Linked DNA regions of Homo sapiens: region 2 is linked to region 1. Evidence: promoter capture Hi-C in 16 types of primary human blood cells and fetal thymus (Javierre and others, 2016). All regions are on one chromosome and are shown on one strand. The core of a region is centred on a gene start or on the middle of the fragment in contact, and the rest is flanking DNA. Distances in the headings are between cores, read along the strand shown.

Region 1 (2,700 bases), core at 18-2,517:
CATGCAATGCATAATAATCAAATCAGGGTAAGTAAGGTATCCATCACCTCAAGCATTTATCCTTTGTGTTACAAACAATCCTATTATACTTTTTTTTTTCTTTTTAGACAGAGTTTTGCTCTTGTTGCCCAGGCTGGAGTGCAATGGCGCAACCTCGGCTCACTGCAACCTCCACCTCCGGGGTTCAAGAGATTCTCTTGCTTCAGCCTCCCGAGTAGCTGGGATTACAGGCATGCACCACCACGCCCAGCTAATTTTGTATTTTTAGTAGAGACAGGGTTTCTTCATGTTGGTCAGGCTGGTCTCGAACTCCCGACCTCAGGTGATCCACCCACCTCGGCCTCCCAAACTGCTGGGATTACAGGCGTGAACCACCGCGTCTGTATTATACTCTTTTGGTTATTTTTAAACGTACAATTATATTATTTTTGACTGTAGTCACCCTGTTGTGCTAGCAAATACTTGGTCTTATTCATTCTTTCTCTTTGCTTTATTACAAAGCAATAGATTTGCCTTCTCAGGTTGTGAGTGTTCAAATAAGTTAGTCTATAAAGCACTGATAAATACTAGGTGCTATTTTAAGCGGTAATCATTTACATGTCATCACGGCATTTATACAACATAGCACACATTACTTTTATCTGCTTTCTTGTGTGTCACCTCCCTGCCTTACTAGAATATAACCTCCACGAGGGCAGGAGAATGATTGGTTTGTTCACTGCTGTATCCGCCAGGGCCTGGCATACAGAACCGTACCCGGCATTCAGAAGGCGCTCAATAAATATATGTTGAATTCAATAAATGAACTGAGGTCTGGAGAGGCAGGAAACGCTTTGGCTTTCATGAATTCTGCAAATATTTACTGAGCACCCACTCAGCACCAGGCAATAGGCTGTCTCATTTTTACAATATTAGCTTGAGACTCTGGCAGGAGGGAGATTTAAATATCAAGTTTTTAGAATAAGATACACAGTGTGAAATGCAGTTTTAAGCGGACACTCCGCTGGGTTTTGAGAGATGCACACTCCCATGTACCTACACTGCCATAAAGAAATAGACCATTGCTTCATCCGGCAGGGCGAGGACTTGGAGCCCAGGTGGCACGAAGGCAACTGACCCGCGGGGTGCTGGTCGCAGGACCCTGCCTCCGGGGGCTGAGGGGGCAACGGCCGGCGGGCGGGCGGGGGCGAGACTACAAGTCCCAGGGTGCTTTGCGCGCCCGCGGGCCGTGCGGAGCGAAGGGGCGGTGCGGAGGGGGTAGGGGGCGCAGCGGCCGCGGCGCGGAGGCGCAGGGCGCGGGCGCCTACGGTTGGCGCGCGGTAGCGATGCCGGGGGCCGGAGCCCGGGCGGAGGAGGGCGGCGGCGGCGGCGAGGGCGCGGCGCAGGGGGCGGCCGCGGAGCCCGGGGCGGGTCCGGCGCGGGAGCCAGCGCGGCTGTGTGGCTATCTGCAGAAGCTGTCGGGCAAGGGCCCCCTGCGTGGCTACCGCAGCCGCTGGTTCGTGTTCGACGCGCGCCGCTGCTACCTTTACTATTTCAAGAGTCCGCAGGACGCGCTGCCCCTCGGCCACTTGGACATCGCGGACGCCTGCTTCAGCTACCAGGGCCCCGACGAGGCGGCGGAGCCGGGCACGGAGCCGCCCGCGCACTTCCAGGTGCACAGCGCGGGAGCCGTCACGGTGCTCAAGGTGGGACCGCTCGCCCCAAAGCCGCCCGCGCGCTTCCGCCGGCGTCCCCTGCCTCCGCCACTGGCTTGCGCCATCCACCCTCCTTCCTCCAAGGCCTCCTCGCCCCTGCCCACGTCGGCCTGCCTTTCCCTGCTTCTCCACATCCCGCCCTCGTTCCTATCTCCTCCCCACTATCTGGGCTTAGGCCAGTCTCGCTGGGGCTACCAAGCCCCGTCTCCTTTCTCAGACACCTTGACCCATTATCTCCCTCTGCGCCTAACCTCGGGCCAGTCTCTGGTGTCTCCCGACCCCCACCATCCCGTGGATGTCCTGTGCAGCCTTCCCAGGCATCCGTGAGCGTAGGCTTCTACCCCTGGGGCCTCCTTTAGAACTTTGCCTATGGCCTTGGTACCTCAGTGAACCGCTCTGGGCTGCAGCGGCCTCCTCTGTAAAATGGGATAACAGTAGTATCTACCTCATGGGGTGTTGGGATTAAATGAATTATACTTTAAACTGCTCAGTAAATGTCAGTGCTTTTATTTATTTGTTTATTTATTCTTTTTGAGACAGGATCTTGTTCTGTTGTCCAGGCTGGAGTGCAGGGGTGCGATCTCGGCTCACTGCAGCCTCCATGCCTGGGCTCAAGAGATCCTCCCACCTCAGCCTCCCAAGTAGCTGGGACCACAGGTGCGGGCCACCACGCCTGGCTAATTAAATTTTTTTTTTTTTTTAAAGAAACGGGGGTCTCACTATGTTGCCCAGGCTAGTCTCGAACTCCTGGGCCGAAACCATCCTCCCCATCCAGCTTCCCAAAGTGCTGGGATGCCAGGCGTGAGCCAGAGTGCATTTAGCACTGTAGACAGAAAGAGTCAGATGGCAGGGCCCTTAGAGACAGTCCACTACATTTTCCTCCAGAGTGGACGGGGATGCTCCAGCTAAGGTCACACAGCCAGTAGGTGGCAGATCCTGTGTTCTTCCTCCTTGCTTTGTCCAGGATGGGTGGGAGGGGGTCTTTTCAGCCAGTTATGCCTTGCTC
Region 2 (2,700 bases), core at 103-2,602, 67 kb after region 1:
GAGTTTGAAACCAGCCTGGGCAACATGGTGAAACCCCGTCCCTACAAAAAAATTGGCTGTGTGCGGTGGGTCACACCTGTAATCCTGGCACTTTGGGAGGTCGAGGCAGGCGGATCACCTGAGGTCAGGAGTTCAAGACCAGCCTGGCCAATATGGTGAGACCCTGTCTCTACTAAAAATACAAAAATTTGCCAGACGGTGGCACATGCCTGTAATCCCAGCTACTCGGGAGGCTGAGGTAAGAGAATCACTTGAACCCGGGAGGCAGATGTTGCAGTGAGCCAGCATTGCACCACTGCACTCCAGCCTGAACAACAGAGCGAGACTCTGTCTAAAAAAAAAAAAAAAAAAAAAACCAAAAAATTAGCTGGGCATGGTGGCATGTGCCTCTAATCCCAGCTACTTGGGAGGTTGAGGTGGGAGGATCGCTTGAGCCCAGGAGGTTGAGGCTGCGGTGAGCTGTGATCACACCACTACACTCCAGCCTGGGCAACACAGTGAGACCCTGTCTCAAAAAAAAAAAAAAAAAAGATATGGATAAAGTAAGAATGAAAAAGTTCTGCATGTGTACCTTAGGAATTCTGTAAGCCATGCATGAGCTGGAGTTCTGAGTGCTGACGTTTGTTATGGCTGCCCACAGGCCTTTTTTGCTCCTGCTCCATGCCAGGTATTGACCTCCAGGTAAGGGTTTTCTATTTGTGTCTGAAATGAGAGTACTGCAGGAAGAAAGGATTTTAAGCTGGAATGTTATTTGGTTAAGACCTGAAACCAAATGGTTTTCAGTAAGTCATTGTCTCTGTGGTGGTGAGGATAGGGCAGCCTCTCTATGTGCCCTCAGAAGGTGAAAGGGACTATAGCTACTCCTAGACAGTCTCCACTTTTAAAAAGCCTGTAAGTAGGATCCTGCCTAATAAAGCAGTTTTGTTTTGCTTAAAGCCACCATTCACATTGCATACTCAATCTAAAAATTCCTGGAAGCTGGAAACCCGTGAAACTCAGGGTCCTGGTGAGGACTTGAGTATGCCTGTTTGGGGTACAGTAATGCTCCATTTATCTGGCATTGTCATGGAATCAGTTTTTTCCTACATAAATGACACTTCCAGATAATTGAAGCTTTCTGTCTACACTTCCGCCCTCACCACCGTTAAAACCTCTGAATTGTAATTCTTTGGGATTTTTTTCTTCACAGTATTTGGTACATGTTCATGGCTTCTGAGCACCCAGAACTTTAGAAGGACAACTGTAGCCTTGTCTAGATGATGGTGATTCAGACCTGTCATCTGGAATATTGGTGAATTTAAGTGATGTCCTCAAAGGCTCTGTCGCTTTCAGACTCTCTACCCCTTCTCCTGGCGCCATCGAGTCCTGTCTCTCAATTTGGTGTCTCTGCTTGCGTGTCTTGTTTTTCTCTCCTCTGTCTCTGCCAGTGGTCACCATTCTCCTTTCCATCCCATCCCTGCATACTTGAGACATCCCCTTCCTGGACTTTTTTTCCATTTAATTTGAGATGAGTTCATTATAGTTTTATCTAAGAAAAATATTCTGAGAAATGGCTTCAGGGATTTTCCCATGAGTGTTGCTTATAAGCTTCGTGTGATGGGCAGAAGTTTTGGATTTCAGCTGAGTAGAGGGAGGCCTTTCTCTCACCTCTTCCTTTCCATCCTGCTGCTCCAGATTCCCGCTTGGAGCCATACCAGGGCTATTGATTAGTGACAGCATGTAAATAGCTGACCCCAGTTTCCGTTATGAACAACAAAGCAAGTGAGACACATGGTCCTCTTCCCCTGCTGTGCATGCAGTGGGCACAGCGCTGTTAGCTCCTTTGGGGTGCCCTCATCTGCAGCCCATTTTATTCCTTCAGCCTGGAAGCAGGATGGTGTTGGGAAAGCTGTTTTAAACCATTCTGTATTCTTTGTTACTTACATTCACATCTGGAATTTTTGTGCATAAAAGGGTTATTTGGAACTTCTTGATGAACTCAAAGAATCAGCTGCATTTGCAAAAATCTTTTTTTTTTTTTTTTTTTGAGACGGAGTCTGGCTCTCTCGCCCAGGCCGGAGTGCAGTGGAGCTATCTCGGCTCACTGCAAGCTCTGCCTCCCGGGTTCACGCCATTCTCCTGCCTCAGCCTCCCAGGTAGCTTGGACTACAGGCGCCCGCCACCGCGCCTGGCTAATTTTTTTGTATCTTTAGTAGAGACAGGGTTTCACCGTGTCAGCCAGGATGGTCTCAATCTCCTGACCTCGTGATCTGCCCGCCTCGGCCTCCCAAAGTGCTGGGATTACAGGCGTGAGCCATTGCGCCCAGCCGCAAAAATCTTATAATGAAAACTTTTTTTTAATGAGGCTGGCTGATCATTGGGAAACAATTTCATCTTTGAACAAAAACCAAATGAAAGTGGGGAAAAGTAGCTTTGCTTCTCAAATTTTAGGAAATGCACCCCCTCCTTTTTTTTTTTTAATGAGACAAGGTCTTGTTCTGTTGCACAGGCTGGAGTGCAGTAGTGCGATTATCATTCACTGTAGCCTCCACCTCCTGGGCTCAAGTGATCCTCCTGCCTCAGCCTACTGGGTAGCTAGGACTACAGGTGTGCGTCGCTACTCCTGGCTGATTTTTGGTTTTTTGTTTTTTTAGAGATGGAGTCTTGCTATGTTGCCCAGGCTGGTCTTAAACTCCTAGCCTCAAGTGATCTTCCTGTCTT

The links. The method cuts DNA at HindIII sites, captures the fragments that hold promoters and counts their contacts. A CHiCAGO score of 5 or more calls a contact.
Region 2: a contact is called between a fragment that was not itself captured here and the fragment with the promoter of TBC1D2B in region 1, in 15 of 17 cell types (total CD8 T cells, activated CD4 T cells, naive CD8 T cells and 12 more). The highest score is 11.7, in total CD8 T cells.

The regions. Positions count from the first base shown.
Region 1 is chr15:78,076,278-78,078,977 of GRCh38, reverse strand. TBC1D2B (TBC1 domain family member 2B) reads left to right here and starts at 1,267. Exons shown (of 13, transcript NM_144572.2): 1 at 1,267-1,685. The coding sequence starts at 1,326. RefSeq lists silencers at 982-1,031, 1,182-1,391, 1,592-1,791. The HindIII fragment of the contact is 13,244 bases long and covers 1-2,700 here.
Region 2 is chr15:78,009,301-78,012,000 of GRCh38, reverse strand. The region is part of intron 9 of TBC1D2B (TBC1 domain family member 2B); the gene reads left to right. Among named protein-coding and RNA genes, the nearest start is that of TBC1D2B, 67 kb to the left of the region's middle. The HindIII fragment of the contact is 474 bases long and covers 1,116-1,589 here.